Linked DNA regions of Homo sapiens: regions 1 and 2 are each linked to region 3. Evidence: promoter capture Hi-C in 16 types of primary human blood cells and fetal thymus (Javierre and others, 2016). All regions are on one chromosome and are shown on one strand. Each heading gives the region's core, a stretch centred on a gene start or on the middle of the fragment in contact. The rest is flanking DNA. Distances are from core to core; before and after follow the strand shown.

Region 1 (4,379 bases), core at 1,309-3,808, 1.1 Mb after region 3:
GAGCTTGCTCACAAGTGTCGAATGGATGAAACGTTTCTCATGGTAAGGCAAGTTTGTATGTCCTCTGAAGTCTCCTGCAAGGCACCTCCTGACCTCCACGCACTTCATTCATAGAGCTTTGAAATTTGTTCAACTTGCTAGCAAGTCGGAGAGTATTTACAGAGCAGGGATGAGTCAAATGGGGAACATGAACAGATGGAGAAGAGCCAGTTGTTATGCTTCAAGTATGTTTCCCACATTGGAATGTGTCAAAGCCTGGCGGTATACACTGCATGCGAGTCACCCACATAGTATAAAACTGATTTAATTTACTACCAAACGCCTTCATTTTGCCATTACGTAATCATAAATGTGCCCCCAAAGAGGCAGTGTTAGAACATAAGCCAGGGCAAAGAGCCAACCAGACATGAGATCTAGTCCTAGTTATACAACCTCATTCATGTTCCTACAAATCCTCAGTGGCCTTTCAGATCTGTGGCAGGACATACCTTGACACCACTCTGGTCTGTTGACTTGTCTTTCATTTACCTACCTGGTGAGCTGTGCGGTTTAGCAGCTAGATTCCTGGGCATGCTGGAGAGATACTGGAGAACTGACACTGGTGCCTTGAGATGTCGTGGCAACTGTCAGCTCCACCCGCCCCCACATCCTGTCTACTCTCTAGTGAAATTGCTGCTCTAAAAAAAGACCTCAGAGCAGCTTGAGAAGGGCCTGGAGAGGACGGCCCTCCTCACATTTCCCCCCAAGGTCTTGCTGTTAAATCTCCCACAAGCTCTAAGAGCAAATTGTCAGTGATCCACTTACCCAGCCCTAAACACCTCAGCCACGTCTACCCAGATGAAGGAAATTGCTTTCAGGGATAGATGCATCTCAAGAAAGTTGGCTATAAAATGGATTTTTATAAAGAGAATTCCATTTTCTCCTGGCTTCCATTACAAAATTGGAAAATTTGTCACACTGGAGGAAAGAATCCTCTCAGGAGACAAAAATGAACATTTGGGATGAGAAATTAATGTAAAGCCATAGCAATGACACGTCTCTCATTGGAACGCACCAGTGCCTGCTGGGAACCACCTCATGGTTCACTTTCCCTTTGAATCATTTCCAGTGTTTTGTGGAAGCGTTGGAACTCATGAACCTAATACACACTGTCAGTCCTTTCCCTCCGCCACCCAAGACTTAGAATTTTCTCCATGAGCAAAGGTTCTATTTCCATGTTCTTGCACCTCACAAAACTTGCTACTGCTCACTCGTATTAGTTTGAATATGGCTTTAGGCTGCAACATAACATTTTATTCTTTCATTCACTTATTTATACCCCACTTTATTCCTATAAATGATTTGATGTGGCTTAAAGGAATAAACGAGATAAGATGGTGTATTTGCATTTCAGATTCAATTCTACTTGTTTCATCTTTACTTGCATTTCAGATTCAATTCTACTTGTTTCATCTTTACTTGCATTTCAGATTTAATTCTACTTGTTTGCCCTAATTAAGTCAATTTTGACATTTTAATGTCATGAGCCGTAGCATTAAATAATAAATATTAATCTATTGGAGCTGAAAGAGTCTGATAGGTCATCTGGGCTACCTCCCACCCAGTACAGCTTCCACCATAGCCTGTCCAGTGAAATGCAGTGGTCTTTCTACCTTGGCTCTATAACAGATCATAAGAAACTGCACAAAACTTTTCTCATCATGTGGCTCATGAGACACCCTAGTTTAAGATCTGAAGCTTGGTGAGTTTCCCAGTAGGTGAAGAAGAAAAGTTCTATTCCATCTGGAAAGACTCTGTCACCAGTTACCCAGATAATTTCCCACTACCAGGGCATAAAGAGAGTTTATTCTCTCAGTAGCAATACCTGGGGCATTTCTAGCTTTTTCTCCTTTTTAAGGTTCCTGGAAAAGCAGAAGCCTTTGCTCTCTGAACCCTGGCTTTATGCCACCTCCTCACTTCTAGATGAAAACTGCTCATTTCATTGTCAGCCACACTTGATTCAGTGGAATTTCCCAAACTTTGTCCACAGAATCTTCCTGCCTCAAACTTCCCATTTGGGGGTCTGTTCCCTGGGTTATTTCTGCTTTAAAGACTGTATAATTGTGAATAAGACACTAGGTCCTTCTCTTACATCCACAAGGGGTTATTCTGGCTTTCCCCTGGGAGCGTTGGGAGGATGTGGGCAGAGACATTGAGCTGACAGCTTAGCTGCCCAGCTGAGTGCCAGAGACTTCTGATCTCTCTCTCTCTCTACCTATTCTGTGTGGGTCAAGGGCACCTTCTTCTGCCAATGGCACACAATCCCTCAGAACTGTGAAAAGTGCCACCTGTCGCATTGTTCCAGCATCACAGGGAACATCCACATAATGCAAAGTTGGTGTGTCAGTCTGCATTCACTAGACTATGCTGCTGGAACCCCCAAACCTCAGTGACTTACAGCACAAAGGCACTGGGACTTATAGCATGGCCCGTCTGCAGCCCAACTTTCCCCCTCACAACTGCTGGGGATCCAGGCTGATAAGGATCCCTTGGCTGGTACATGCCATTGTCATGACAGAGGCAAAGAGCAGTGTCCAAACCTCATGATAGCTCTCCTAGTATCTGTTCACAGTGGCGTATGTCACTGTTACGTTCTAGTGGCCAAAGCACATCATATATGGCCCTGTCTGATGTCAAAGGGGTGGGGACGAACACTACAGCTTAGCGAAGGACAGATACTACTCTATCCAGCAAAGGAGAGATGTATAATCCTTTTGCAGTGAGTGAGGTGAATTGGGACCAATAAAGCAATCAACCTCAGTTGATGACATTATAGTTTGGGGAAGACTCCCATAGAGGAGCTAACTTGTTTACACCAATTATAACCTATCATAGAGTTTCACTGTCCAGATGTGGGGGGCATCAGCTCACTGCCGTTTCTTCCAGAAGCACTGAGTGTCCTCCATAGATTTTCCTGTCCCTTCGTCATGCCACCCCCTTCACTGTCTGCCTCACCATCCACACACACTCACATAGCACCTGGGTTCGCTTTTTTCTGCTCTCCCAAATTTCCTACCTCCCCTTCTTTTCCATGCTGTTATCCTTCCCAAAGCCTCCTCTAGTGCCTAGAGGTGTGATACACAGATGTCCTTGCCTGCTCCCATTTCCCTTGCTGGATGAGGTAAGGGGAGGCCTCAAGTCCTTATGGTGAGGGAAGGATGGCAAGACATAGCATGGTCTTGACTGCAGGAGGCAGCTTGCTTTCATTTGCTCTCGCTCTGAATTTCTTCAGTTATGATCACATATTTAACATAAATCAGACATCTCACACTAAAAGAGTTTACCTTCTGCCAATGGACTTCCCTGAGTTTACAGGTGAGACTCATATTCTCCCTGCTAGCAAAGCTTCTGTTCCTTCTTTTTTTTTTCTTTGAGATGGAGTTTCACTCTTGTTGCCCAAGCTGGAGTGCAATGGTGTGATCTCAGCTCACTGCAACCTCCGCCTCCCTGGTTCAAGTAATTCTCCTGCCTCGGCCTCCTGAGTAGCTGGGACTACAGGCATGCACCACCACCACACCCAGCTAATTGTTTGTATTTTTAGTAGAAACGGGGTTTTACCATGTTAGCCAAGCTGGTCTTGAACTCCTGACCTCAGGTGATCTGCCCGCCTTGGCCTCCCAAAGTGCTGGGATTACAGGTGTGAGCCACCACACCCAGATCTGTTCCTTCCTATGCTAAGATGTTATCTGTCTCTTTCACCACCTTTGGTTATGTATGCATTGCTTTCCTATTAACTTGTCTCTGGAAGACATGCCCAGTGGTTGCACTTTTAAGATTTATCTGTGTGTGTGTGTGTGTGTGTGTGTGTGTGTGTATGTGTGTGTTCCAGTTTTTGTTTATTTGTTTTGCCTGGACTGCAGTGGATAAGTAAATTCATTTCTGCCACTCAGTCATATGGGAGCCCTGCGCAGGGTATCATCCACATCTGTTGAACTGTCTCACCACCACCACCACCACCACCACCTTCCTCCTCTCTTCCAAAAGTGCCATTATTTCTTTATAACTCTCAGGACCATCCTCCTGCCCAGAAGATGCTCAGTACAGATGAGCATTTTCAATCTTATGTCCAAGTGTGCTTCTCCCGGCATTGCACTGTTCCTTATTGTTGGTGCACAATTTCATAATTCTGTTTAAGCCCCCATATAATGTAGAGAAATAGCTCAGGGTTGTTGCCACACAATGACACTTTGAGATCATCCCCAAAACAATGCTTCTATGCACCAGGACCTTCATGGTTCCCTTTACCAAACTGTCTTGTCTTTTTTTTTTTTTTTTTTTTAACTTTTATTTTAGGTTCAGGAGTACATGTGCAGGTTTGTTACATAGGTAAATTGTGTGCC
Region 2 (4,666 bases), core at 562-3,061, 1.2 Mb after region 3:
CTGCAGGCCCATAAGGTGGATACTTCCCAAAAGAAAACTGCCTGGGCTGGTCTTCCGATCACAGAGCACAGCAGCAATGCCCCAGCAAAAAGGGGAACTGAGCAAGAAAGTCAGGAGAAGCAGCCAACTCAGCTGTGGAGACAGAGCAGTGGTCAGCACACCCAACCTCGTGTTTGCCCGGGTTCTTCCTACGTGCAGGGTTAACTGCAAAGATTGCCCCAAAGCCTGGAAACAGGGCCCTGATATGAAAGAATTTATCCTGGGCTGTGGCCCCTGGGCCCTTGGCTCCCTGTATACCTTGAACTCTACATCCCAAAGGTTGAGACGGTTGCTGAGTAAACCCCAGATAGACCTTTTCCCCTAACCGTTGCTTATTAACTTTGTTCCATTGAAGCTTGCTGTCTGCTTGGAAAATTTCACTCACAAGCCGCAGCTTTGCCTGACTCAGTGCAATCCAAGGCCACCATCTCTGGTGAACTTCCCTTGACTCCTCCCTCCAGCCACTTGCAGAAATGCAAATCCTGGGCACCCACAGGCTGTTTGGGGGCCTGTATAGAAGCTGTGGGCAGAAACCAGAGGCCACTGTGGTACTGCTGGACTCCTGCAGCCAAAGGACAAAAGGGCGAGACTACGGGCCGTCTGGGCAAACAGAGAGAAGCCACTTTATTCCCTGTGGAGTGGAGGATGCTAGGATGTTGCTGCTCCGGCAGACAGAGGCCTTTCGCTTGAGTCATCAGCCAACAGACTGAATGTTATGGTTTTAGAAACCCATACACAAAGTTGAGTGGTTTTTTCCATTTCTAAAATTTAAAATGTATGTATTTTTAAAACACCCACCTGCATGTAATACACAGCTTGTTCAGGAGTTCTCAAACAGCCCCAGCACCCACCCCATCCCAGAGGCTCAACCAAATAAAACCAAAACCAGGAGGCTGGGTCCTTTTAAGCACTGGTAATTTCTACCTGTAATTCCAGCCCTTTGGGAGGCCGAGGCAGGCAGGTCACCTGAGGTCAGGAGTTCGAGACCAGCCTGGTCAACATGGTGAAACCCCGTCTCTACTAAAAATACAAAAAAAATTAGCCAAGCTTGGTGGTGCGTGCCTGTAATCTCAGCTACTCTGGAGGCTGAGGCAGGAGAATCACTTGAACCTGGGAGGCAGAGGCTGCAGTGAGCTGAGATTGTGCCACTGCACTCCGGCCTGGGTGAAAGAGTGAGACTCTGTCTCAAAAAAAAAAAAAAAAGAATTGGTAATTTCTAGATGGGTACCTTGATGGGTCTCAGAAAGAGCAAAACCCACTAGCAAGAAATGAAAGAACATTTCTTAGGCTAAAATCCTCAAGGAAGTCTACATAAATGATTGTATGTGCTATGTTCAGCCCAGCAATATCTCATATACCACGTATCATTGAAGAATGACATTCCATTTAGGTGAAGTGTCCAGATACTGAAATATCCACCTTTAAAGTTCTTAAAAGAGAACTTTAAAGAGTTCCAAGAGTTCTTTTTTAAAGGATTTCTGATAAAGAACATTCTAAATCATGTGCTGCACTTCCCTGTCTTTTTAAAACCTACATTGAGAGGAGTCAACTTTTTCTCAATGATTCAGGCTTTTAATTCTAAGCTTCACTTTTGTGACAGCAGCCAGTATTGCCATAATTGGAACAGGCAGATTAAGATTTGAATTTTTATTGACCTTTTAAACTTCCCAGGCCTCAGTTTCCTCATCTGCAAAGCTGTCATAATAATAAATATCTTGCAAGATTGCTCTGCCTTTTTATGTAGATGCCCAATAAGTTAGCAACTGTGTTAGCATCATTGGACTTTGTCAGGGGACAGTTTGGGACTATTTTCTATCAATCCTCCTGCTTTCACACATCCTGTTACGAGTATGCCTGTCTCCTGTAGCCTTCCCATTCTGACTTGTTTTTGCTTTTTTATGGGGTTATCAATTTTGCTTCAGGAGCCCTTGCTGTCTCTTGGGAAGTTTGAGTTCTGGGACCTAAGCTTTGCTCAAGCCAGTGCAATCCCAAGGCCAGCATTTCCAGTTGGCTTCAGCCAGCCAAGCTTGCAGCAGAGTTAGGACTGGGGAGTGATCCCCAAGTGACAAAGCGTAAGAGCAACAGAGGATGGAGTTCTCAACATCAGTGTAGCTGCTCACAATCTTTTTTTCTGAACTCCCCCACACCGTTATATTCTGCATATTTAAGGTTTTGGATATTTGCCTCTAAGTGTCCTAGATAAACAAGGTGCTCTTGTGTTTATTTACAGCCAGAGGGGCCCTCTATATCTTAGAAGATATGTCTGTTTCTCCCAAAGTAAGAGATGATATCTTAGAAAGGTAGCAGTTTCCCAGTTGATAACCTGATCATAGTAAACAGAGAGATCAGACCAGACCTTAGTCATCTGGCCCCTCCCCATTCAGCCAGCAGTGTTTCCCTGTGCTCAGTAAACACCCTCGATTCCCTGCAAACAACCAAGCATAGTCTTGCATCTGCATGAGCCCCCTGAGTTCCCAGGGCTCCAGCCCTCCTTTCCCTCCCTCCACAGTGTCCAGCTGCAAGCTCCCATCTTCCTCCCCTGAGTTTCCTTGCTTCCTGCAGTTCCCTTTTATCACCCTTTCCTCTGAACTCCCAGAGCACTTGATGTTGCCTGAGTCCCTTGCTTTTTGTTCATATGTGGTCATCTTGAGTTCTCAGCAAGTAAATTCTACAAGGGCACAAAGCATGTACTTCATATCTAAACTCCCATGGCGCCTAGTCTAGGAGGGTGCTAGGCAGGTGTGTGCAGGTGATTTCGTGATATTTTTTACATTGGAAATGCCAGGCAATAGGTCAGCATGAGCTGAATCTGTGTTGGAAGGCAGACAGATCTGTGTTCCCTATTTGTCCCTCTGGGAATATGACATAATCTTAGGGGGTAGGACACAGGCCAAGAATGTCACTAACTGATTTGGGACATGAGTCTCTCACCAACAAAATGGTAATAGACCATTCATTCATTCATCAGGAAATAGCTATTAAACACCTACTATGTGCTAAGCACGTTGGTATTATTGGGAATACAGTGATGAATAAATCATATTCTTTTCCCTAAAGTCACTGTTACTCTTTCCATTTTACAGATGAAGAAACTTGGGCTCAAAGAAGTTAAGCAACTGGCCCAAGGTTCTACTCCCATAAGTGGCAGAGAAGGGTTTTGAAGCCAGATACCCTAGTTTTCAATCTCTGCTTTACTCTTGTGCTGTCTGCCTCCCCGGCATCATGCATTTGGCAGGGGACATGATATGGACCTGTTACGTGGGCCCACAGCATCCAGGTCCAGCCTAAGCTGGGAAGATCAAGGAAGGCTCCCTGGAGGAGGTGACGCCTATACGAATTCTAAAGAATTTGGCCAGGCAGCAGGGAGTGTGTTTGGCTGGTGTCATAGGCAGACAGCAGCATGCCCAAAGACAAGAAGGAGGGAGGGTTTGATGCCTTCAGGAACCAAAATAATTGAACATGCCTGAACCCAATTTCTTAACCAGTGAGCATTGTAAGGGTAGACTAAAAGGGGCTGTCCTTGTGACTTGCTGACACAAACCCTTTTCCCGGTGAAGAGGTGCCTGAGCAATACTATTTAATTGTATTTCCTGGCCAGACAACTTCCACCATCTCCTTAGGAGACAGGGTGGTCAGGAAGCAGGAAAGACTAAGATGATGGGGACTCTCTGCTGTCCCCACCTTCCCTGTCCATTGTAGGGTCTCTGCAGCCTCATACCCTATGTCCAGCGACCTCCCCCACCCCGCCGCCAGTGGAATGCCTGAAAGTGGGGTTTGGCCTGGGAAAGTCCAGGTAACACTTCAGATTAAGCTCCTCTTGTCAATTTCCTGCTACACAAGACTTTCTGAATCCAAGTCTCTTTCCTATGAATAGAGGGCGGGAGGCCAGATTGCCCAGTTGGAGGTGTGGCTTCAGCTGGTCTCCGTTGAAGTCTGAAAAGCCAACAAAGCATAGTGAGAATTCTGTGTGGTTCAAGAGGGTGCCTTGTGCTTGTTGAGGAGAGGCCGTTGGCTTGATCACTCACGACACTATTACTGACGTTATTATTTACTGCCTGCCCAACCACAGAAATATTCTGATTCCCCTAAGGAGCCAGTGAGCAGTAATAATTTTCTGTATTGCAACAATCCTCCTAATGACAGAAACAGATCCACCTCCAGGTACGTGGTGGACGAATGGGAGCAGCTGGCTGCTGGCCCCACACTTACCAACCTTGACCACAGGGTCCACCCAGCAACTCCACCTCACCCATGGATCAGGGGGAAAAACAACTCACAGACTGTTCTCCTCTTACCAAGGTTAAAACGCAGCTGGAATTACTTTGGGCAGTTTGTTTTTAAAAATGAGTGTTGCAATTGTAACTGTCTCAATGCAAGCTTCGCTGTAGATGCCCTTCTTAACAATATGCTTTATCTTCTGACTGAGAAAATCACTTGAGATGTTATCATGCACAATCCCACTTGTTCTGCCTCTCCACCCTGGCACCTTCTCCGAACCCAGAGATCCCAGAGGGCCAGCATCTCACCCCATGTAACTCCATGTAATTCTCCCATCTAATTACACCGGCTGAGAGTCTGTCTTAAGAAATTCAGTGGGAGCTCCAGGTGTGGAGGGGATAAAGAAGAG
Region 3 (4,195 bases), core at 1,593-4,092:
TTTGCTTTTAAATATAAAAGGGAAAAAATGAAAACGAATACCCATTTTTCTCTTTCATTATTTATGCAATCATTCTTGCACCTGCTTTCAGAAGGAAGCAAAGAATGTGATCTTTTATACTAATGCTCCAAGGGTTTTATAAATAAGTTAATTTAATTAGTAAAATTGATTCAATTTTTTTGTGATAAATAGTACTTGCTATAAATAATTCCTTGAAAGGTAAAAATATTTTGTTTAACAGTGCAAAACATGAGACTCAATTACTGGTCAACTATAGATTAAATATTATCATTCTTCATTCAATGTATACCTGATAGTACCTGACATTTTAGTTAGGCAGGGTGGTTTAATAATATTGGTCAGGATTATTGTTCTTTCTCTGTATAACACTTCTTTACTGGCTACTCCAGTACTTGCTAAGCTGTTGGATAACAAATGGAAAAATATCACATCACAGGCATATTTATCTACCGAGCAGGCAAAACAAGAAAATGGAACCCGGGCTTGGCATCATCTAGTGTTACTCAATCAAGGCAAATTATTTATTGTCTTCTGCCCAGGAGGTCCCATGGGGCATGAAATATTGATTTAGGAATTTGCTGGGCATGAATGACTGTGTGTTGCAATTGTGTTCTTTTTTTTAATCCCTTGATAATATATGGTAAATTGTTTCTATATATGCTGTGATGAGGCTGAATAACAAATTAAACCTGGCTATTTAATAAACATGAAATGTAAACACTAAACTCTTCATACTAACTTAGGGCTATAAAAGGTCACCCCATGGTGTACAGGATTGCACAATGCACTGTTCACATCCTTGTCTAGAGTCATCTCTTCCTTCATCTCACAATGGCATGGCCTCTGCTGCATCCCCTAGGTCCCGATTCCAACTTCCCAAGTGGAACTGGGAGAGCCGGAGTGTTCTTTATGGTTCACTTGGGGATTATCAAAGCCAGGACTTGGGGTGGGAGGTTCTAGATATTGGGAAGGAGCTAAAGCTGGGCTAAGAGGGAATTTGTGGCGAAGAGGAGGAGCTATTCATGACCCAAGCAGAAGAAAATGAGTCTGGAGCAACTGTAAAGCAAAAAGCCACGATGCAGGAAGGATGGCAACATGCAAAGTTATTTCATCAGTGGAAAATCTTTGCTCTGTACCATTCTATAGGTCCATGAAATACCGAATATTAAAAGTGAGGGCCACACATTAATGCACGGCATCAGTATCTATTTGTTTGTTTGATTCACTCATTGGTACTTCTCATGTAAGAAACAGCACAGCAGTTACGATGAAGACTCTGGAATCAGATGACCTGGGTTTTAAGCCAGCCTCTGCTACTTTCTAAGAATGAGATTTTAACTAAATCATTTAACTTCCTTTGGCCTCAGCTCCTCATCTCTAAAAAGAGGATAAAGTGTCTCCTTTGAAGAGAGCTGGCCTGAGAATGGAGACCACACTGAGGAACAGATAGAGCTAAGAGCTGGACAGAGCTAGCTGGCCCCTGAGGACATAGTTTGAGTTCCTGCTTTCAACCTTGCCTCAATGGAGTGCCCTCTGGATCTTCTGATTTTATGAGGTGATCAATTCTGTCTTTGGTTTATTTAAATGTAAATTAGTTTGTATTGGATTTACAACCAAATTACAATGGACTTGGTTTACGTGATCCTCTTGGTTTGCCACTGACTTTCTATACATAGAAGACAACCAATATATACTTACTGAATGTATGAATGAGCTAAAATTTATTTTTTTAAAAAACCTCTTGAAACCCATGAATTTAATCTCCTCTGCATTATCATACCATCCTAGGCAATTCACGTTCAATTTAAGTGTGTCCACATAGGAGCACATCCTTCTGTAGAGAAACACATGATGCAGCCCTGAGGGTCTTGCTGGATGAACTGGATGGCTAAGAAAACTGCAGGGAGAGACCAGAGATTGAGCTCAGAAGACCTGAGTTCTTTTCAACAGAACTAACACCATGGTCTGCTCAGTCTCTTGACCTCTCCGAGCACCATTCTTGATGCACAAGATGCGAAGAATAATATCTACCTACCGGGTAGTTGTTAAGCTCAAAGGAGCTCATTTACATGAGAGCTAAGAATGAAACTAACGTAATTTGTTGGTTTCCCCCACATATTCCCATTTCAATTGGTGATGGATACACACCTGCCAAATCATGAGCCTAAGGGTGTTAACTTTTTTTTTTCCTAATAAAATGCACAACGGTAGTCGCATTCCAGAAGGCTATGTGTCAACACACGCGATCATATCTGGGTCTTGGGTGTGACCTTTGGCCAAATACTCAGTGTCCTCGAGGGTCTGTAAAAGGAAAAGTTTCCACTGGCGCGTTCTCTCCAAGGTTCGCTTCAGCTCTGCTATCCCAGGGCTCCTGATGGCAGCGGCACGGGCTGTGCTTAAGGCGAGTTCCTAACAGGCCCTCGGGGCACTCCTGCATCTCCGCACCCGGCAGCCTCGCCCCTTGGGTGTTTTTGGTGGGCGTGACTAGAAGCACCTGCTCCTGGGCTCCTTTTGCATCTTGCTGCAGTCCCCTCCTGTGAAGGGCGCAGCTCTGCAGTCTCCTCGCTCTTCCCTCGGGTGTTCTTTCTGAGATCCGGTTTCAATCCTCGAGCGTGTAGCCCTCAGGTCCCCTTACAACTCCCCAGAGCTCCGTGTGCATGCGTGCGAGAGGGAGAGAGCCAGGGAGAGACCCAGGTGACGAGACGAGGCTCCCGGGCTCCAGTTACTGGCCCGCAGGGCCGGGGCACGTCGTCGCCCAGCGTGCGGCGGGGCCCGGGAGCGCCGCGGCCCCTTTAAGAGCCGGGCCCAGGCCGTCGCCGGGACCGCAGGAGCCCAGAGCGCGGGCGCCGCAGAGGAGTTGGGAGCCGGCGCAAAAGTTTCCTCCCAACTCTGGCCCCGTGCGCCGCCGCCGCCGCCGCCCACTCCAGCCCCCGGCTTGGGGCCGGCCCTGCCAACGCCGCCAGGGCCAGGGCCAGGGCCAGGACCAGCGACAGGGCAGGGCCGGCAGTTTCGCTTTGGTGGGCGCGGAGCAGCCGCCTGGGCCGGGCAGGAGTAGGAGCGGGAGGAGGAGGAGGAGGAGCCGGTGCCGCGGAGCTGCCGCGTCCCGGGCCGCCGGGCACCTGGGAGGTAACCCCTTTCCGCGGCCGCCCCTCCCCGATTCCCGCCACCTGCCGCCTGGCCAGGTGGAAGGGGCGCTGCCGCGAGCCTCCGGGCCTCAGGGTGTTCCGGGGAGCGGCGCCCCGGGTCTCTGGGCCCACCCGCCCCGGGCGTCCTCCGAGAGTGGGGGCTGCGCCCGCGGGGTCAGACACCTGTTCGGCCCGGCCCGGCGTGGTCGCCGGGGGCCAGGATGAAAGTGACCGTGTGCTTCGGCAGGACGGGCATCGTGGTGCCCTGCAAGGAGGGCCAGCTGCGCGTCGGCGAGCTCACCCAGCAGGCGCTGCAGCGGTACCTGAAGACCCGGGAGAAGGTGAGCGCGGCGCGGAGGAGTGGGGCGCGGCTGCAGCCAAGGCACCTGCCAGGTGCGACCCGGTGGCGACACTCAGGGGATGCAGAAAACCCAGGGGATTATGGGGCACTGCCTGTAGCTGCAGCTGTTGTCTATTGCTAATATCAGTGATGTGGGTGTCTTTGGGTGTTTGTGGGCCTTGAGCTCCGAGGGTCGTGAGTGGACCTGCAGCATTGGAATCTCTTGGGAGCTTCTTAGAACTGCCCAATATGGGCAGTTCTCCAAACCCACCGACTCAGGATCTGCTCTTTAACGAGATCCCCAGGTGATTGGAATGCCCACTGAAGTTTGAGAACCACTGGTTTAGAACTTGTTTGAGGGAACGTCTTAAAAGGTGCTGCTCACCTAAGTGTGATTTTTGACCCATTAAGGCCCGCCTCACTTAGGCTCCTTGGAGTTAGAAAGTTGATTGTGCAAGTGACACATACTCGGAAGTTACAACTGATGGGGCCTTTGGAGTTTCAGCCTTGTGAGCTGCCCTGTCTCAGTGACTTGGGCAGGAACACAGGTGGGAGCATGCTGTTTGCTTAGCCAACCTGTCTACATTTTGAGTGTTTTCAGTTTAATGTCACAGATTCTATGACCATTTACTATGTGTGTGGGCTGTTGTCAGGTCCTGAGTGACTATTAAAATGAGAAAGACGTTCCTAGCTCTGTAGCTGAAGTCAG

What was found. The method cuts DNA at HindIII sites, captures the fragments that hold promoters and counts their contacts. A CHiCAGO score of 5 or more calls a contact.
Region 1: a fragment that was not itself captured here is called in contact with the fragment with the promoter of PARD3B in region 3 in 1 of 17 cell types (total CD4 T cells); the score reaches 5.0 in total CD4 T cells.
Region 2: a contact is called between a fragment that was not itself captured here and the fragment with the promoter of PARD3B in region 3, in 2 of 17 cell types (non-activated CD4 T cells and total CD4 T cells). The highest score is 6.9, in non-activated CD4 T cells.

What each region holds. Positions count from the first base shown.
Region 1 is chr2:205,660,412-205,664,790 of GRCh38, forward strand. No RefSeq gene overlaps it. Among named protein-coding and RNA genes, the nearest start is that of NRP2, 20 kb to the right of the region's middle. The HindIII fragment of the contact is 1,647 bases long and covers 1,736-3,382 here.
Region 2 is chr2:205,700,313-205,704,978 of GRCh38, forward strand. The region is part of intron 2 of NRP2 (neuropilin 2); the gene reads left to right. Among named protein-coding and RNA genes, the nearest start is that of NRP2, 20 kb to the left of the region's middle. RefSeq lists an enhancer at 267-436. The HindIII fragment of the contact is 383 bases long and covers 1,621-2,003 here.
Region 3 is chr2:204,542,633-204,546,827 of GRCh38, forward strand. It overlaps PARD3B (par-3 family cell polarity regulator beta), which reads left to right and starts at 2,843. Exons shown (of 23, transcript NM_001302769.2): 1 at 2,843-3,487. The coding sequence starts at 3,368. RefSeq lists a silencer at 2,830-2,879. The HindIII fragment of the contact is 7,233 bases long and covers 1-4,195 here.